Regions from separate parts of the Homo sapiens genome. Here region 2 is linked to region 1. Evidence: promoter capture Hi-C in human tissues and cell types (Jung and others, 2019). All regions are on one chromosome and are shown on one strand. Each heading gives the region's core, a stretch centred on a gene start or on the middle of the fragment in contact. The rest is flanking DNA. Distances are from core to core; before and after follow the strand shown.

Evidence for each region. Contacts are between HindIII fragments. The study calls those that stand out against the background at their distance.
Region 2: a contact is called between a fragment that was not itself captured here and the fragment with the promoter of BTC in region 1, in 2 of the 25 tissues and cell types used here (H1 embryonic stem cells and pancreas).

The regions. Positions count from the first base shown.
Region 1 is chr4:74,792,860-74,796,902 of GRCh38, forward strand. BTC (betacellulin) reads right to left here and starts at 1,664. Exons shown (of 6, transcript NM_001729.4): 1 at 1,403-1,664. The coding sequence starts at 1,466. The HindIII fragment of the contact is 8,112 bases long and covers 1-4,043 here.
Region 2 is chr4:74,841,800-74,845,842 of GRCh38, forward strand. No RefSeq gene overlaps it. Among named protein-coding and RNA genes, the nearest start is that of BTC, 49 kb to the left of the region's middle. The HindIII fragment of the contact is 4,890 bases long and covers 1-4,043 here.

The DNA of each region.
Region 1 (4,043 bases), core at 414-2,913:
AATTTTTCCACAGGTTACCCTGCTGGGCTTGCATATCCAAATTCAGTGCAAGTTCTAGGGCAGGAATCATGTTTTATTTTAGGAATCTCATGAGCCCTTTCCCCACCTCCATTGCTACATACCTCAGCACCTTGCTGACTACGACAGATTCTCAGGGAATACTTTGACTGTTGGATAGTTTAGACACGGTGGAGGAAGAGAATGTCAGCTACTTGCAAGCAATGCTGGCAAAAGCATCAGTACTATTTCTAGGGTTAAGTCTCAACCCCATTGCTCTTCTTCATGAATGTACACATTCACTCTACCACTAAATTGTTACTGACTCCTTCCTCTTCAGCGTTTGTTAAATAAGTTTATTTTCTCTAACCTTGGTCCTAAGTCTGATCCACCTCCAAGCAAGTTCACTGTACCTTTTTAGCCACCTCTCTTACTCCAAGGACACAGTCAAATGAAAGTTTTCATTTAGGCTCCCCCTCTCTTTCCTCAATAAGAGGAATTCCCATTCTTTTTCATTTGTGGTGTCCCCTTCCCAGGCTTGAAGGTAGGAGTGATATCGTGGTGACACTTCAGCTGTGGAGACTCTCCTCCTACCACATAAATGCTCCAAACCCAGATGTGTCTACAGCCCAGCTAAGATTAGAAAATGTTACTGGTTTCCCTTCCCTTCTCTGCCCCGCAAAATGACCATGATGCAGAGAGCAAGCTTTGAAGAGTTGGGATTTTTTCCTACTTAGAAGCCTTCTCACTACCTTCCCTCGGTGGAGGGGAAGGGGAAGCCTGCTTCCAGCCACATCTGAAGTTCCAGCTCTGCTTTGTGAGTTCTGACTCCTAAGGAGGCAGGAGAGACCCTCTGGAGGGCTCTAGGCATCCTGCTACTCCTCCTCCCGCTGGCACTCTTCCCTAACGCCAGGTGATCACACCTTCAGTCAAAGAGTTCCCGTTCTTCTGCCTCCTGCAGGATATGCTTCTTGGTCTATACTACCACGTGAGCTTCTTTAGTGGGTTTCCCTGCTCGCCCCTGCCCCCACCCCCCGACCCTCACTTGCGAGCACAGCGCCTCACCCCGGTGGACAGCCCGCCGGCGCCGCCAGGCCCTCTGCTGTGCGCACAAGTCAGCAGCTGGCGGCCTGCTCGCAGCACTGGCAGCGAGGACCTCGGAATCGCTTCCGCCCTCGGGCCTTCTCACGCGTCTAGGGACTGCCTCCAGCAGGTGCAGCCCCAGGTGCCCAATTGCCAGATCTTTAACCTCGCGCTCTCCCAGCCTTCAAAGTTCTCCAACCCGCGCCTGCCAGCCCCAGCGCGCCCTCTTGTCCAGATGCCAGCTCGGTTCAGGGTTCGCCCTCCCCGCGACTCCAGCCCCAGACTTTCCTCCTGGTTTCCAGTGCCCAGCACGGCCACTTACCCAGGGCAAGGGCCAGGAGCAGTGGCAGGGAGCTGGCGCCGCTGCACCGGGCGGCCCGGTCCATCAACCCCGCTCTGCCGGGCCGGGCAGCCCCTAGACAAGTCTCCCTCCTTCTTCGCCCCCTTCCCGGGCCTCGGGCGCCTGAGAGGGTGCCTGGAAACTAATCCCGGAGGCAGAAGGAAACGAAACTACTTCCCAGGCTGGCACCCTGGCTACAAGGCAGGGAAACACCCAGGGCGGGAGGCCGGCCGGCTCCGTGAATGTCGCCGGGAGGAGGGAGCCTCCTATTTATCCCCCCTCCTCCTGCACACACCCCGCCAAAGAGGCGCAGGACTTGGTCCTGGGAGCCTCCACGCTGCTCCCACCCAAATTGCCCCACACCCATACCCACACCCAGGGACATATTCGGGCTGCCCTCGGACCAGCTCACCACTCCCCCTGCTGGGTCTCACCTGACTGACTGTTCATTTCCCTACCCCCTAGGGCGTAAACAAGGTAGGGAGGGAGATGTAAAGAATCCGCGTGGAGGGGTGTCGGGGGTTCCGGTCGGGCCTGCAGGCTGACCTAAACTCCTGGAAGCCACCGAGGAAGAGTCAGAGACCCAAACGTGTTCTGGAATTCTAACTTCCTTTATTTCAGAGGATTGCTAGTGTCATGGAGAAACCAGACTCACCATTCATTGTGGTTGACTTCAGGCATTTGATAATGCAGGCAATTTCAAAAGAGTCATTGTTGCCTTTTAAAGTCTTGAAGCCATAGCGAAACCTCGTCTCTACAAAAAATACAAAAGTAAATTAATAGCCGGGTATGGTGGTGTGCACCTGCAGTCCCATCCATTCCCTGAGGCTGAGGTGGGGAGGATCGCTTAAGCTTGGGAGATGGAGCCTTCAATGAGCCTAGATCGAGCCACTTCACTCCAGCCAAGGCGCAAGAGTGAGACACTGTTTCAAAACAACGACAACAACAACAACAACATCAGCAACAAAAAAAAAAAAAAAAAAAAAGAAAAGAAATGAAAAAAGTCTTCAAGCTAGTGTCTTAGTTTCTGGGTGCATTGTCTTCTAATAATTCATAAAATTGGGGCTCACCAGGACCTACTTTAGAAATTTCATTTGTATTTCTGTTTATGAATTTACTCATGTATTCAGTATATTTTCATTTACTTGCATTAAGCAATTTCTGGAACAGAAAGACATCCTCACAGCTTTTAGAGAAAGCAAGCAGCATCCAATTTTACCTTATGTGGTTATATATTGCCTCCAAGATAACCAAAAGATACAGCTGCTTTTGTACTGGTCTGTGTTCCTCATATAAGATTTATGTGGATAATTATGCCCCTCAGTACAGAAATTTTATTTCTATAGCATCCAAAAGTCATGTAAGCCTTATTTTACATATGAAATGTAGTTTGGGTGTCTGCCTCTTCCTCCTCATCCTACTGTTTAAGTTAAGTAAATTGTTGTGCACTTGTCTCCCACGAATAACATTTCATTTCAAAACTAAATTATTTTACTGCCCCAGGCAACTGATATATCCGGTGGAATAAAAATCAGCTCTTAATTTTCAGAATCCCATTCTAGTCCCACATGACAGCTCATAAAACATTGGTAGAGAGGGCAGGCATGAAGTTTAAAGAAACCCAAAGTTGTAAGATGGAAGGTTACTGCACCCCAGCTAAAAAGAGCAGAAACACTGGAAGCCAATGGATTTTGACATCATCTCCCTCCCTCTCAACACTTCCACCCTGCATTTTTCTTTTCTGATATTCTCTCCATCTCTCAGCACCAGTGCCCTAAGTTAAAGTATCTCTTACTCCAAGATGGCATTTAGCCTAGCCAACAGCTGTCCTGTTAGCCCCAACAGAATGCTACAATTTTGTTTTCCTTTTTCGTAGATACTAATAAAAAAAAAAAAAAGCGAGACCTAAACAAAAAGTACTAAATGTTTGTTGAGCATTGGAAAATTCCAGGACTTGGTGTAAGTATTCATCATTTATGCCATTCAAGTGGTAAATTAACTTTTTCAGGCCACTAGAATATGAAGTAGTATAATTTAATATACTAAATAGGACAGATAAATTAATAACCTTCCTTGAGGGCTTTATTTACCACCATAAATAAAATAAGTACTCCCAAGAAAATCCAAATTTTCTGACACTGGATATCCAATCTCTTCAATGTTAAGAGACTTTTCCTGTCTTTTTTTGTTTGTTTCTTTTTTTTCCCCTCACTTTCTTTCTCTCTGTTCTTCCTCCTCTTCTTCCCTCTCCTTCTCCTTCTTCTTTTTCTCCCCCAGCCCCCAACCACCTCTCTCTCTCAAGTCATTTGCTTATGGGGCATGGTAAAGCTGGAATACAACCATTACATTTGGAAGAGTGGAAGGTAAGAATTGATTTTCCTGAGTCCTCAAACATGTAACTGAGTTGCGTCTCAGTGCTTTCATTTGCAAGCTGAGCTGTTACTAAGAGAAAAATAAACCAAAGTTACACCAGAGTCACAAGGTGAAACTTGTATTCCTAGTTAACCCCAAGGTAGGAATTGCTTGAGTGCTGTTCTTCCTGTGCCAGGTTTAGGCAGGTATAACCAGTCCTCCCAAATCTGGTATGAGGCTTAAGTAGATTCCTTTGGAGGGCCTTTAAGCA
Region 2 (4,043 bases), core at 569-3,068, 49 kb after region 1:
CCTACTTGGATATGTTAAAAATCCACTCTCCTTCCAGTACATATGTTCAGATTGTGCACTGTTCAGGTGTTATGTTCAGGTATGCCACAACCACGGGAGCACCATTCACATCATGGACACATGATAACATTTGAGGGTATGTGGGCCAATGTAGAGATTTAACCTAATTGCCAAATCCTGGATCGGCAGGTGTATTAGTCAGGGTTCTCTAGAGGGACAGAACTAATAAGATAGATAGATATATTAAGGGGAGTTTATTAAGGAGTATTAAACTCACATGATCACAAGTTCCCACAATAGGCTGTCTGCAAGCTGAGGATCAAGGAAGCAAGCCCAAGCCCCAAAGCTGAAGAACTTGAAGTCTGATGTTTGAGGGCAGGAAGCATCCAGCATGGGAGAAAGATGTAGGCTGGGAGACTAAGCCAGTCTAGGCTTTTCACGTTCTTCGGCCTGCTTTTACCCTAGCCATGCTGACAGCTGATTAGATTGTGCCCACCCAGATTAAGGGTGGTCTGCCTTTCCCAGCCCACTGATTCAAACATTAATCTCCTTTGGCAATTCCCTCACAGACACACCCAGGATCAATACTTTGCATCCTTCAATCTAATCAGGTTGACACTCAGTATTAACCATCACAGAAGGCAAGACATCCTTTTACATAAACCCACACTTACGCATGTGGTCATGCACATATCTGGGGGAACATGCATGCACACACTCTGTAGCACACACATATGTGTATGACTGTGCCTTATTATGAGCTCACTCTGGGTGTTCCCTGAAGTTACATTTCTTGCTCACTACTCTTAGAGTCCTCATTCCTACCCAACACCATGCCAACCTGCCCTGGTCATCTCACAGGTGGTGCAGAAAAAGTGTATATGTTCCTGGTGTCCAGGATGTGGCACTGAGTGTCCCGAATTCTATGAATCTCTCAGAGAGTGGGTGCATGTGCAGACAACAGTCAAAGATGTTTACAGAAGCCAGATATTTGAAATGGTAACATTAGAAAATAAACTCTAAGAAATGAAGTTCTAAGCATTTGATTGCAAAGAATCCATATGAAGAAAGGGAAGGCTTAGTAGGAAACTCCTGTTGCTTTAACAGTATGTCAGTGAGCCTGGGTTTAAAGAAAGGAGAGATGTGAGGGGTGCTCAGGATTGAGGGTGAATATGGGACAATAAGGAAAATTGTACCAACAGTATAAGGAAGGCAAATAGAAGCTTGAAAAAAAAATCAGGAACGTGAACAAGAAATCTATGACCCACTGAGGCATATGGAGCGAGGGTAAAGCTACTTGTCTAAGGTTACATAGACACAGGGCATAAATGGCAGAGCCAGAGTTTGGACCCAGGTCCCTGCCAGACTGTTATAATACTGCTCCTCATGTTTAATACATTGGTGAGTCCTGTTGGTGTTACTTCTGGCCTTGTTTAGGCTGTCATCTAGATAATTACAATTTCCCCAGATCAATCTCAGCTGAAATCCATTCCCCAGGATCTGCATAGACTAATCTTCCACCTGACCATGTCGTTCTTTTTCCGAAAACCCTTCTAGGGCTTTCCATTTTTCCCCTAAATATGATAGCTGGCTCTCCTTGATTTGACCCCCATATCCTCTGGAGTTCCAACTCCTGCCCCTCCCCTTCCAATACTCAGCAGTGAGACTGCACATCTAATGGGTCTCTAAACTTCTTCATGTTTCCCTGCCTTTACTCACGTTGCCCCCTCCACTAGGAATACCTTCTTCTCAACCTCCCATCACAACATCATTCAAAGCTTAGTACAAGCCCTACCTCCAACCTCAGGTTACATTTTCTGAACTGCCAGACTCAGAGAGGCACCTTATGTGAATCCCTACCATGGTACCTTGGCCCTCTTACAGTGCTTACATGGCACTGAATTTTCCTCAGCTACTTGTGGATCTTTCTACCTCACTAGAGTTTGAACTTATTAGGACATTAAACATGCCTGATTCATTCCCCCCTCAACGTCTACACAAGCACTTTGGCTGCTCAAAGAAAATGTTCGTTCAACTCTACATTACATTGAGCATCAATTCCTCTGTGGCCCATAGAGCAGGGTTCCCCAACCCCGGGGCCAGTACCGGTCTATGGCCTATTAAGAACCAGGCCAGCACAGCAGGAATTGAGTGGCAGGCAAGCGAGCAAAGCTTCATTTGTATTTATAGCCACTCTCCATTGCTCTTATTACTGCCTGAGCTCCGCCTCCTGTCAGATCAGCAGTGGCATCAGATTCTCATCGTAAGGCAAACCCTATTGTGAACAGCGCGTGGGAAGGGTCTAGGTTGTGCACTCATTATGAGAATCTAATGCCTGATGATCTGTCACTGTCCCCCATCACCCCCAGATGGGACCATCTACTTGCAGGAAAACAAGCTCATGATTCCCACTGATTCTTATGGTGAGTTGTATAATTATCTCATTGTATATTACAAGGTAACAATAAAAGAAATAACGTGCACAATAAACGTAATGTGCTTGAAACATCCTGAAACCGTCCTCACCCTTCACCCCCACCCCCACTCCTGGTCCGTGGGAAAATTGTCTTCCATGAAACCAGTCCCTGGTGCCAAAAAGGTTGGGGACTGCTGCCATAGAGCCTTTTATTTACTTTTATTTCATTTTATTTTACTTTATTTTATTTTACTTTTTGAGACAGTCCTGCTCTCTTGCCCAGGCTGGGGTGCAGTAATGCGATCTCAACTCACTGCAACTTCCACGTCCTGGGCTCAAGTGATCCTTCCACCTCAGCCTCCTGAGTAGCTGGGACTGCAGGGGCACACCACTACATCCAGCTAATTTTTGTATTTTTTTTATTTTGTAGAGACAGGATTTCACCATGTTGCCCAAGCTGATCTTGAACTCCTGGACTCAAGCAACCCACTCTCTCAGCCTCCCAAAGTGCTGGGATTACATGCATGAGCCACCACGCCCAGCCCCCATAGAGCCTTTTATTATTTGGCCATCCAAACCAATCCAAAGTTTCCCCCCTCCCTTTTCTATGGAATGCACCTTACAGCTCTAGGCTCTCTGGTCTCCTCATAGTCCTAACTGCACACCCTTTCATTCCTATGGCTTCCTCTCCCTGAAACACCCTCTTATTGACTATGGAGATGCCAATAAGATGCCATCTATCCACCCTCATCCAGACTAAGGATAAACTTCTTCATAAATCCATTCACGACAGCACTGGTCTACTTCATTCATTTCCATACAGCAATGACACTCAATAACAGCCAAGCAGAAGCTCTCTATGCTCAGGCAGGGCTTAATGACTAACTCAGCTAACTCCAGGATAATCAGACAATGGGCGAGCTTGTTGGTCAAGGGTTCTCAAATGTCAGCAGTATCTGCAGGTCTTCTTAGGCATGGAAGTTTCTTTCAGACACTAACCTTTCACACTTCTGGCTGGGGGAGTACATCTGGCTGCACCTTTTTGAAAGCAGAATTGGGAAAAGAGGATTGTGGAACTCACCACTCAGTGGGTAGACATTTATTTAATTTCCAGTTTTCACACCTACTTTCTGACATGACCAATGTCCTCAGGTTTAATTTCTCTAGAAAACAAACTCATGCTTTCCTTTCAGGGTAAAGGAAGGAATCGAAGGATCCACTTGCTCCATATAGAGTGTTTCAATCAATTCCCCTACTTCCAATCCCATCCCTTGCCATAACTTCTGAAATAACAGCTACTCCAACTCCTAAGCCCTTCTAGGGCTCTCTGGAGTGAGTAGGTTTCCTGGTCTTTATCCTCCCCTGAAAGATGCTAACTTGCAAAATCTGTATTAAGTTTCAGGATCTGATCTGTATTTATTTTTTAAAAAATTATTTTCCACCTTCCTTCAAAATATAAGTCAGTGGAAACTAGCAGAAATTCTGGTTTGTTCACTAAGAAGAGTGGCTGGTAGTACTTTGTATGTGCTTTGCATTAAAGCCATGGGACTCATGATGTTTCAGTCAACAATGGGCTATATATACAACAGTGGTCCCATAAGATTATAATGGAGATGAAAAATTTTTA